2 separate regions of the Homo sapiens genome follow, and region 2 is linked to region 1. The links are contacts of gene promoters, found by promoter capture Hi-C in human tissues and cell types (Jung and others, 2019). All regions are on one chromosome and are shown on one strand. Each heading gives the region's core, a stretch centred on a gene start or on the middle of the fragment in contact. The rest is flanking DNA. Distances are from core to core; before and after follow the strand shown. Region 1 overlaps DDX6 (DEAD-box helicase 6). Region 2 holds the start of KMT2A (lysine methyltransferase 2A).

Region 1 (6,178 bases), core at 1,296-3,795:
TACTCCTGCCCCAGCCTCCTGAGTAAGGATGATAGTGTAGTACCAGCACACCTGGTTGTTTTTTGTTTTTGTTTTTGTTTTTGTTTTTGGTAGAGTCAAGGTTTTGCCATGTTGACCAGGCTGGTCTTGACCTCCTGGGCTCAAGCAGTCCTCCTGCCTTGGCTTCCCAATGTGCTAGAATTATAGATGTGAACCACTGCACTTAGCCCAGTCCTCATTCTTAGTGGATATTTGCTGACTCCTATTTCTTACCTTGTATTAAAATTTAAAATTAACTTTGTTACTTGTACTCTGAGTGTTGTTATAGCATATAGGCAATTAACTCTTCAGCCACTTAACCAATCTGACATCCAGCTTTTTCTGTAAAGTAGAAATAAGTACTCTCCCTCACAGGATTTTTATTGTTAAGATCAAATGTAGTGTACAACCAAAGTATTTTGAAATAGCAAGGTATTGTATGAGTATATTGTTTTAGATACTCAAGGTCACCACTTGTATTGCCTTTTTCTTTTTTTTTATTGCCTTTTTCTTTCCTATTGTTTTGTCCTGGGGATCCATGGAAAGCACAAGATTATGTGTTTCTTAGAATCAATCAGAGTTACAAGTCACAAATATTAGGATTTTAGAACCGAAACAAAATTTACAGATCCCCTAGTAAAAAAATTTTTTAAATTTTTATTTTCATAGGTTTTTTGGGGGAACAGGTGGTGTTTGGTTACATGAGTAAATTCTTTTGTTTTTGAGACAGGGTTTTGCTCTGTCGCTCAGGCTGGAGTGCAATGGTGTGCTCTCGGCTTACTGCAACCTCTGCCTCCCGGGTTCAAGCGATTCTCGTGCCTCGGCCTCCCAAGTGACTTGGGATTACAGGCGGGCACCAGCATACCCGGCTGATTTTTGTATTTCTGGTGGAGACGGGGTTTCACCATGTTGTCCAGGTTGGTCTTGAACTCCTGACCTCAGGCGATCCACTCTCCTCGGCCTCCCAAAGTACTGGAATTACAGGCGTGAGCCACCACGCCTGGCCAAGTAAATTATTTAGTTGCTATTTCTGAGATTTGGGTGCACCCATCACCCCCCTGGTAAAATATAACCTCATGGCAGGCTGTCTTCTAGTATTCTTTCCATTCTTATCTACCTTCTCGTTTTATTTTTGTCATCCCTCCCCCATTCCTAAAAGTATCTCTTCTATCATGCTTGGTTTTACAGTTTTATCCAGGCATTTTTTTTCCCCTAAATATTAAAACTGCCTTGATTAGATGGGTGAGTCTTCTGCATTTGAATATTTGTTTGAGATGGAATTTAGTTGCAGTTTGGCTGTGAGATTTGGAGAATTGGCTGGGTGCAGTGGCTCATGCCTATAATCCCAGCACTTTGGGAAGCCAAGGTGGGTGGATTGCTTGAGTCCAGGGGTTCAAAACCAGCCTAAACAACATGACAAAACCCTGACTGTACAAAAATTAGCTGGGCATGGGGGACATGTAGTCTTAGATGTTCAGGAGGTTGAGGCTGTAAGTGAGCCAGGATTGTGTCACTGCACTCCATCCTGGGCAACAGAGCAAGACCCTGTCTCACAAAAAAAAAAAAAAAAAAAAGACTGTTAGAGAATTAGGCACTTAAAATTATATGCTCTCAAAAGAGCTTTTACATTGACAGGCTGGAACCAGATATACTACAGATTGCTCCCACAACGTATTTCTAGAGCCATCTGTGACCAGTTCTAGGTCTGGATGCTGTGGCCAGTAGAATAATTGCCATTCTAAAGGTATAGCTTTATAGGAACCTAGACTTCTTTGGAAGGCTTAAGAATATACTGTTTTTGTCTGCTTAGCATTATTTGAAACTTTATATTAACTTTGGGGTTATGATTGAGAAAGATGGCCTCTCTCGTTGCTTCTAAACCCTGGGAACACCTCTTGAAGACTTTTTCGAAACTCTAAGAAGGTGAAGAAATGAGAAGTAGTTGATTATTGAGGGAAACATGGAAGCTCCGTACTGTTGGCAACAAAATTTTGTGCCAGGTCAGCTAAGGTCTAATGAGGATTAATAGTTTACTATTTATAGTTAGGAATTATAGCATTCTGAATCCTGTAAATAAGTCATTCTTCCTGCTAACAATCGGTTTATCATGATTGAAAAAAATATTTCCTAAAAACTCAAAGGTTTTTTTTGTTTGTTTGTTTTGTTTTTTTTTTTGGTGTGTGTTTTGTTTTGTTTTCTTTTTGGGTGGGGTCGGGGAGACAGAGTCTCAGTTTGTCACACTGGCTGGTCTTGAACTCCTGGCCTCAAGCAGTTCTCCTGCCTCAGCCTTGCAGAGGGTTGAGATTACAGGTGTGAGCCACCATCCCCAGCCTAAATTAGAGATATAATTAGAAATTACCATCTCCCTTTTTTTTTTTCCTGTTAAGCAGGGGACATTTGTAACAATCATTGCTACCTCGTCTGGAGTAACCATAGGTTGTTTTTTTGTTTTGTTTTATTTTGTTTTGAGACAGAGTCTCGCTCTGTCGCCCAGGCTGGAGTGCAGTGGTGCAATCTTGGCTCACTGCAAGTTCTGCCTCCTGGGTTCACGCCATTCCCCTACCTCAGCCTCCCAAGTGGCTGGGACTGCAGGCGCCTGCCACCACGCCCGGCTAATTTTTTTGTATTTTTTTAGTAGAGACGGGGTTTCACCATGTTAGCCAGGATGGTCTCCATCTCCTGACCTCATGGTCTGCCCACCTCGGCCTCCCAAAGTGTTGGGATTACAGGCGTGAGCCACCGCGCCCGGCCTTTAACCATAGGTTTTTTTTCCCTCTTGGAAATTAAGGTTTGGAAAATAAGAGGAAGCAGTCAGTGTAAATGCAGCTAGTTGGGTGATGTTGAGCTTTTGTTGGTACCACACTTTTGTAAAATGCCTCTCAATGCTAGGAGATTGGAAAATAAACCATTCTTTAATTATAGGCATCAGAAACCAACTCGATCTAACTTAAGCAAAAGGAAATTTATTGGAAAAATAACGGGAATTCACAAGATTGAGAAGGCTAGAGAAACATACTTGGAAATGACTAAGAATTGAGATAGCTCTGAAGGACTTAGGAAGCTGTAATGGATGCACTATAACAATTTAGATTCTTAGGAGGCAACATTCCGCTGGCCCAGTGTGGGCTATGTGTCTACCACTTGGCTTAGAAAATTGGTGAGGCTTGGTCTGTTGGGACAGGGGAGACCAGGGCATATGTAATTCCTTAGAAGGAAATTGGGGTGTTACTTAGTAAAGGGATACTAGAGTAACCAAAACACAACAAATACTCTTCAGTCATTATCTAAACGTTACAGTGAATGTGAATTTGGAGACCTAAGGTGGCAGATGTCAGCCCTAAGCTTGTGGGGTTGGTTTTTTGGGGTTTTGTTTTTTGGGGGTAATAGCTTTATTGAGATATAAATGACATCACACATCAAAAGTATACAATTTAATGCTTTTTAGTGCATTTAGAGTTCTGCAACCATTACCACAATAAATTTTAGAACATTTTGATCAGTCCCACAAAAGAAACCCTTTTAGCAGTCACACCTCATTTTCCCACACCCCTAAACAACCACTGGTATACTTTCTGTCATTCTAGCTTTGCCTAGTCTGGACATGTCATATAAATAGAATCCTATAGTATGTGTTTTTTTTGTGACTGGCTTCTTTGACTTAGCGTAATGTTTTCCGAGTTCATCTGTGTTGTAGCTTGTATCAATATTCCATTCCTTTTTCCTGAATAATATTTTATTGTATGGCTCTATTACTTCTGATTTATCCAGTCATCAGTTGGTAGACATTTGGGGTTGTTTTCCAAGGACTGAGGATTTAATGTGCTATTTTGTGAAAATCTGAGAAGTAGGAAGGGGATTTAATGATCTCAACTGTCATCCGTCTGAAAAACCTAACTTGTGATTTTAAATAAAATAGCAGGCTGCCTTCCCCTGTTCCCTTTTTAAAATAGGAACTGACCCTGCTTTAACCTTATGAAGTTTTATTTATGAATAAAGTTTGTACTATTATAAAAAAAAACATAGAAGGAACTGGCTATTAAGGATAATGCTGCTATGAAAATTCAGGTGCAGGTTTTTGTGTGGAGATGTTTTTATTTCTCTTCGCTGTATACCTAGAATTGCTAGTTCATATGGTAACTCTTTTTAACCTTTTGAGGAACTGCAAGGCTGGTTTCCAGCGTAGCTGTACATTCCCACTAGCAGTGTATGAGAGTTCCATTTTCTCCAACTTCTTGCCTACATGTTATGTGCAGATCTAAGTTCAAATACTGGCTAAAGCATTTCTTGCTTTGTGACCTTGGGCAAACTAATCCTGTTTAGGATCCATTTTGTCAGTTGTAAAACAAAGTACCTAACTTGAAAGTTGTGCTGAGCACATAGTAAGTTTTAAAAAAAGTTTTCGTTTCCTTCCTCCTTTGCCTTCTCCCTGGCAGTTCCTCATAATTTCCTCTTGTATTTCACAGCTTTTTGAACTTGACTTGAATTCTCTTGCTTTTCATTATTTCCTGAGAAACACTGGTAAGAGGCAGTGTGGATGTGCTGAATTCACTGACTGTTAATCATAATGGCCATCATATAAGGCAAAATATCAGGGTGTCTTAACTTACAGTCTATCACATGTACTTTGTTAAAGCTTTATCCTTGAACAGTTTTTGTAGGGTATAATCCCTGTCAAAGAGGGCAAAGGAATAGAAGTCAATGGCCTTAATCAAGTCAGTCAAAAGATGAACTGAAAAGGGGGATTAGGATACCTCTAGTCTAATTCTGTTCTGCCTCACTTGATTGAAAAAAAGGTTTACACTTTAAAGAACCTGACCCAGCAAGTCGTTATGAGACCATCAGAGACCACCTATCTTACTTTTTCAATACTGTAAAACTGAGTAGTGTGCAGGCAGCCTGTTAAAAACTACAGACTACTGGCACCACAGAACCACAAAAGAGAAAACCTGAGGTGACAGGGTAATGGGAGCCTCTGGAACAACTGGAAATAATGGTTCACTTATCTGTGATGAGGGAAGAAATTTAAGACCAAAGGGTTAAAGCCAAGGTTTTCTTCTTTGTTTGCTTTACCTTAATAAGCAGAGTCTTTAATGCTGGCTGTAAGAACAAGACAACAGTATTTTCTTTTCTTTTCTCTCTCTTTTTTTTTTTTTTTGTGAGACTGAGTCTTGCTCCATTGCCCAGGCTGGAGTGCAGTGGCGCAATCTTGGCCCACTGCAACCTCCTCCTCCTGGGCTCAAGCAGTTCTCCTACCTCAGGCTCCCAAGTAGCTGGGACTACAGGTGCGCACCATGACCATTTTTGTATTTTTAACAGAGATGGGGTTTCACCATGTTGGCCAGGCTGGTCTCGAACTCCTGACCTCAGGTGATCTGCCTACCTCAGCCTCCCAAAGTGCTGGGATTACAGACATGAGCCATCGTTCCCAGCCAACAACAATATTTTCACAGTTGTTCTGGCAGCTGTGTTGTTCTGACCATATGGAACCCATTTATATCCTGTGATTGGAGCTCTAGGTAGAAAGAGTGTTGTCGTGGGAGATGGAAGTCATCCTGCTTATTTAGTCATTTCTACCAATAGCAGCTTTAAAGGGCTAAAGCTGTTTTTTGTTTGTTTGTTTGTTTTTGTCGTTAGCCCAGGCATAGAAGGGACAAATGTCAGTGACTGTGAATTTGGTTCCTAGTATCTTAGTTTTAGAAATTAAAAATTCAGGCCAGACACAGTGGCTCATGCCTGTAATCCCAACACTTTGGGAGGCCGAGGTCGGTGGATCATCTGAGGTCATGAGTTCAAGACCAGCCTGGCCAACATGGTGAAACACCCCGTCTCTACTAAAAATACAAGAATTAGCTGGGTGTGGTGGCACACGCCGTTAATCTAAGCTGCTCGGGAGGCTGAGGCAGGAGAATCGCCTGAACCAGGAGGCGAAAGTTGCAGTGAGCCAAGATCGCACCATTGTACTCCAGCCTGAGTGACAAGAGCGAAACTCTGTCTCAAAAAAAAAAGAAAAAAAATTAAAATTCCACATCATGGCCCGGCGCGCTGGCTCACGCCTGTAATCCCAGCACTTTGGGAGGCCAAAGCGGGTGGATCACGAGGTCAGGAGATCAACACCATCCTGGCTAACACGGTGAAACCCCGTCTCTACTAAAAATACAAA
Region 2 (6,134 bases), core at 1,476-3,975, 340 kb after region 1:
AAAATAAGCAGGTAAATGAAATGTCAGTTTTTTCTTTTTTTTCTTTTTTTTTTTTTTTGCTGCTGTATCTTTTAAAAAAGCAAAATCAACTCACATTTAAGCACCAACTCCATGCAAGTAACCTGAACGGTTCAGTCTTTTTGTCATGTATGTGGCCTTTGGTTCTCCAACTACATGGGATCTGTGTTGTTAGCTTAAAAAATACAGAATTGGCCTTTCAAAAAAAAATAATAATCTACAGCAACCAATAAATAGTCTCAAACAACCCTGCTGACTGCAGCTGCCTTCTGAAGGCTGGGAAAAGGAGGTGGAGATAGAGCAGAAAGAGGCAGGGAAAGGGGACGCTGCAGCTAGCTACATAGCAAGGAACACGCCCCCATCATGTCCTCCTTGCTCTGTCAGAAGGCGGGTTGTTGTCAGTCTCCTGATCAGGCTGCCTTAGAAACGATTAAAAAAAAGGAGGCAGGAAGACTAACAACTAAAAAATGCCAGCTCCTTGAAAGGAGGGGCCAGGGTCCTTGGGATCTCCTCCCTCCCCTTCTTCCCAGGATCTTTCCGTAAATCTAAAGGGGTGCGGGGCACAATAGGGGACAAGGGGTTTGCCCAGGATATTTTGTGTGCACCAACGGCAGAGCACGCAGGAAACGGCTGGTTGTTATCTTTCCCTTTCTGTTTCAATCAAGAGCACTCCAGAGCAGCAACCCCCTACCCCCCTTCGCTTCAGCCCCTAGCAGCTGCTCTTCCTCCTCCTAGCATCCCCCATGCCATCCTCCCCCCTCTACAATTCGAACTCCCCCCTTCTGCATCCAATGGAAAACAAATGCGCAACGCCACTGGCTGAACCTGAACTCAACTTCCCTTCCTTGGGCAACTTTCCTTTTTGCTGAAGGGGGCCGAATAATGTTTATAGAAGCAACTCCGTTCTTGCCCCAGTACTAATGGGGAAGGGGCAACGCTCTGACCCTTCATCCACCTTGGGTCCCCTTACAAGAATCAGAGACAACCCCAAGTCCTTTCTAAGGAATAACTTTGCTTGATAATCCTTTTTCTCCCATCCCAAAGCAACCACCGCCACCACACTAAAGTATAACTGTCCCTTATCTACTCTCCTCACCCCAACCTGGCTTCCCCCACCCCTTCCAAGCCCCAGGATTGGCCTAGGAAAAGGTGGATCAATAATGAAATGACGAGAAGAGAAGGGCGGGAGGGAGCTCGGGTTGGAGACTGCGTGCTCTCAGGCGCAGTGGGTGGGGTAGGAGAGCAGCTGCTTCCCCTGGGAGGATGCTGCCTCAGTCCCCCAACAAACACCTCCCCTCACAGGGGCCCCCTTCCCCAGAGCTGGAGGGAAAGCCTGCCTCCTCTCCAAGGGGAGTGGTGGAAAGCTGCTCTTCTCTAAGCCTAGGGGACAGTGGACTATTTTCCCCTCCAAGATGCCACTAATCCTTCATTCTAAAGGAGGGAAAGGGTGGAGTGAAGGTAGAGTAATTCCCGGCTACCAATAGGCTAGAAACTGTAGCCCTGTAAGACGGGGCGGGGGGGGGAAGAGACTGCTGTATGAGGAATCACCGTTATCTTCAGAGGGAAAGGAGGTGAGACCAGGCAAGGTGCAGAGGAGAGATTTTCCCCGGTGGGGTAGGGCGGGATGGGGGAGGATCGGTCTGCTTGGGGTGGGGGTAGAGGGTGGAGGTGAAGGAAGGGGGAGTGGCTGGCAGTATAGGGACCTGGCCCGGGGATGGCGCGAGGGTTCATCGGGTTTTCGAAAGCAAGGTGCTGGAAGGGACACGATCCCCAAGGGCCAGGAGAACGTGGCCCTGGATGAGGCCATCACCCGAGAGACGCCCGAGAGGAAAACTGCCCTAGGAGTAACACATCTGCCCAGAGAGGGAGGCGGGGATGTGGCGGGATCAGGTCTCTAGGAGGGAGGGAGGGAGGAATCTTGCTCGGATGAGGTAATCTGTGAAAGGGAGGAGGGGTTCAGTCCCGGGATGGGAAACCCCGGCGAGGGGGTCTGTGCCAAGGGATTTGGGGAAGGGTCAGGGGGAGGAGAGCGGGGGGCAAACGCCCTCAGCCAGATGGGCCCAAACCCCGGGGTGGGGGCGCCTGGGGGTCTGCAGCCCTGCATGGGGGTCCCAAGATGGGAGAGCCATTCGCCCCGGGTCAGGGACCCCGAGATGGTCCCAGAATTGGGATGCTCCTCAATCCCGGATGGGGGAGGGGAGGGGGCTCCGCAGAGGGTCGAGACCCCGGACCTGGGGGTTCCTCGCCCCCTTACCTCTCCGCTGCCGCCTCCCCCGCCGCTCTCCCCAAACACGGCCCGGAACCGGCGCAGGTTGGTGCCGATGGCGGCCGAGACCTGCAGCGCCGCGTCGAAGCCCGGGCCCACCCGGAGCAGGGCCGGCCCTGAAGAGGCTGAGGACGATGACGAAGACGAAGACGAGGCGGACGACGAGGAGGCTGCTGAGGCGGCGGCCGCTCCCCCTGGAACCCCAGCCCCGCTGCTTCCCGCCGCCGCCGCCGCGGCCGCCACAGCCGGGGGGGAGGGGGGCGCCCCGGGGCCGCCACCGCCGACCGGGGGCCCGGGGGGAAGCAGCAGGGCCGGGACGCGTTGCCGCGGGGCGCCCCCTAGGCCCCGGCGCCCCCCGCCGCCGCCGCCCCCGGTGGTCCCGGGTCGGGCGGGGAAGCGCCACCGACAGCTGTGCGCCATGTTCGCCCCGTGAAGTGAAGCAGCGAGAGGGAGAGGCGACAACACAGGGGGGCGGGGAGGCGGAGGGGGGGGCACGGGGCCCCGGAACCTGCCTAACCAGCTCTGCGCCGCCCGGCCGCCTGCACCCTGCCGGCCGCTATGCAGAGCGCCGGGCCGCGCCCGCCAGCCCCGCAATCTGTATAGCGGCCTCGGGCCTCCGCCTCTGACGCCTGGGCGCTGCAACTCCATCCCGAGGCCCGGGCCGCCGCCTCCTGCCCGCCCGCCGGCCCCGCAACCTGGATAACTGCATGCCCCGCCCTCCGGGAGAGGCATTGCTCGGGAAAAGGAGGGGGGAAGGAAGCCCGGGAGCCCGGAGCAGAGCGCGGGTTCCGGAGAGAGGGGGAGGGGGCGAGGACTACGCGGAGGATGGAGGCGTAGGGAGCCGGGCCGCCTGCAGCCTTGAGCGCCGAGAGGCCGATTACACACGTTCCCGGGACGCGCTGGGAATCGAACAGCCCGGGAGAGCAGCTTCCAGTATAACGCGGCGGCTGGGTCGGGGAGCAGTGAGCCTTCTCCTCCGCCCCAGGGCACGGATACAAGATGGGTTAGCCCGAATTGAACGCTTCTAGAATAAAAGAGCCCTTATTGTACTACATGCAAAACAGAAGCGCTGCCCAGTTTACTATATGCAAAACAGAAAGGCCCTCAATGAACGCACTTTAAAAAATAAAAAAGGAGCCCCTCCCATTTTCATGCTGGAGCTCTTTCCAAAAAGCACACACCGAGTGGCAGGTCTCCTGCCACCTCCTCGCTCTACTGTGCACTCGTCTGGCTTTCGTGCCCTTCTGCAGGGAGTTGGGTTGTGTTTCTCCAGCCCGGGCACTGAGGCCACGGCGTGCTCCGCTAACGACGCGGTGTTACAACGAAGCTGAAGCTGGGTGGCTAACGGGGCCTGGAGGGAAGAGGCGGGCAAAAGCGCCCCCGCCCCTTCTTCCTCCGGTCTCTGCCTGCCGCTGCATGCAAAGCAGACCCTAATGTATGCACGCAGAGGGAGGGGGGCTCGCGAGCACGTTTCTGATTAAGAGAGGGGGAGGAGGAGAGCGTTGGGCATTATGATACACTGGGTGGAAGGGGCCCGCCGGCGGCGAGCTCTGTGCGCGGGGTTAGTAAGCTGAGGGGGGAGGGGGAAAGAAGGAGGCGAGTTAGGGAGGGGAATGAATATCCACCGGGTTTACTTTATTGCGGGAAAGAGGGGAGGGCGCCTCGAGCATAGCGTTAGACGCCTGCAAGGCTGGGAAAGCCGAGAGGGTAGGGAGGGGTTTGTGTCGGGAGAACTTGCGTTGGCTGAGGCTGGGGGATCGATACACAGCCTGCAGGCCCCGGGGCAGCCTCCATCCCCCAAGCCGAGGGGGAGTTCGCTGGAAGGTCATGCAGCCTTCCTGGACTCCCGCACCGGTACAGCGCACTGCATGTAATATTACAGCCTGGGGCGGCGAATTTGGGAAGGAGGGAGAGGGTCGTTGTGAGCAGGTTGCACTCAGCTCTGGCCCTCCGGAGGGTGCACTTCACGCCTCCAGAGAAGGTCCACAGCCTCCTGGTGCTGAAAACCTACGTCCCTCCACTGGCGAAACATTTGTGCAGAGCGGACGATGGGATGGGGGCTGGAGAGGAGCAATGAAAGGGAGGAGACACAGGCAAGCCTCAACTCCCCCAACTCGTCCCGAATCGATCTTCGTTCCAACCGCGCAGGATGGGGCCCAGATGGTTTGCAAAGCGCACACTCGCACAACGCAATACACAGAACAAGATTCCGTTGTTACAGCGCGTGGTTTACTAGATGCTAAAAGGGTGGGAGTAGCAGGAGGGTCTTAAACGGCAGCCCCAAGGCTCTGCTAAGGACAGAGACACCCCATTGTGGACGGTTTCTCCATTGCAATATATTTAGCGTTGGGCGCTGGGGTTTTTGCTTCAGTGTAGCTGCTCTGATCAGTTACAGATTGGCGACCACGTGGATTCCCTCAAGCATCCTGATTTGTTCGTTCTCTCTCTCTCTCTCTCTCTTTCTCTCTCTCTCTCGTCTCTCTTATTTTTCTTTTGTATTTGCCGCCCCCCCTTCTTTAATATGCATAACGGTCTGCAGAGGTAATAGGCAGGGGACTGAATGACAGGCTTTATATAACTGTGTCAACAGATTTCTTCCCGCCTTCTACCCTTGAGAAAACATGAACCGGGTGGGTTCTGAGTAACCTCACTTCAAGCATTCTTCATTTAACACAGGTGGGAGGTCTGCAGGTTGCAAGGCAGCAGAAAGAAGGAAGAATGTCTTCGAATATTGTGTGGAGTCCCCAGACTCAAGCCTCTGAGCAGAAAAACTCCTTGAGAAATCATATAGTTTGTCTCTTTGCCTCTAGACTAGTCCAAAAGGAGCCAGAGCAAGTCAGAATTTGGTTTATTGTTGGAGATTTTAGGGCGAAAATATTAATAATAACATTTTTCAGTGCTTTCTGTGAGCCTAAGTGCTTTATGTGCACTCAATTCTCTCCAATTCTATAAGTTTGATTTTACATATGGGGAAACTGAGGCTTAGAATAATGTCTAAAGTCACACAGCTAGTAAGTAGAAGTGCTAAAACTCACTGGGGTCTGACAGCAAATATCCGTTAACCATCCTGCTGATCATAAAAAGACATTACGACTCCTGTAATCCCAGCACTTTGGGAGGCCGAGGCAGGCGGATCATGAGGTCAGGAGATCGAGACCATTCTGGCTAACACTGAAACCCCGTCTCTACTAAAAATACAAAAAATTAGCTGGGCGAGGTGGCGGGCGCCTGTATTCCCAGCTTCTCGGGAGGCTGAGGCAGGAGAATGGCGTGAACCCCGGGGGGTGGAGCCTGCAGTGAGCCGAGATCGCGCCACTGCACTCCAGCCTGGGCGACAGCAAGACTCCGTCTCAAAAAAAAAAAAAAAAAAAAAAAGACATTCTGTGCCTTACACATTAGGTACCTTAAATTCGATGTGCTTTACTTATTTTTTATTTTAAATTTTCATTCAACATATTTTTCTTGAATACCTAATACATTCATATGGTTAAAAATTTAAGGCCGGGCACGGTGGCTCACGCCTGTAATCCCAGTACTTTGGGAGGCTGAGCTGGGCAGATCACCTGAGGTCAGGAGTTCAAGAACAGCCTAGCCAACATGGTGAAACCCCCGTCTCGACTAAAAATACAAAAATTAGCGGGTGTGGTGGCGGGTGCCTGTAATCAGCTACTCGGGAGGCTGAGGCAGGGGAATCACTTGAACCCGGGGGGCGGAGGTTGCAGTGAGCCGAAATCGCACCACTGCACTCCAGCCTGGGCGACAGAGTGAGACTCCATCTCTAAAAAAAAAAAATTAAAAAAAAAAATTTAAAAGGAGGCCGGGCGTGGTGGCTCACTCCGTAATTTGGGAG

The links. The method cuts DNA at HindIII sites, captures the fragments that hold promoters and counts their contacts. A contact is called where the count stands out against the background at its distance.
Region 2: the fragment with the promoter of KMT2A here is called in contact with a fragment that was not itself captured in region 1 in 1 of the 25 tissues and cell types used here (adrenal gland).

Annotation. Positions count from the first base shown.
Region 1 is chr11:118,769,879-118,776,056 of GRCh38, reverse strand. The region is part of intron 4 of DDX6 (DEAD-box helicase 6); the gene reads left to right. Among named protein-coding and RNA genes, the nearest start is that of DDX6, 18 kb to the left of the region's middle. The HindIII fragment of the contact is 5,946 bases long and covers 1-5,518 here.
Region 2 is chr11:118,433,083-118,439,216 of GRCh38, reverse strand. KMT2A (lysine methyltransferase 2A) reads right to left here and starts at 2,725. Exons shown (of 36, transcript NM_001197104.2): 1 at 2,273-2,725. The coding sequence starts at 2,704. RefSeq lists enhancers at 759-1,756, 1,757-2,755, 3,417-3,556, 2,756-3,753 and a silencer at 2,627-3,106. The HindIII fragment of the contact is 10,858 bases long and covers 1-6,134 here.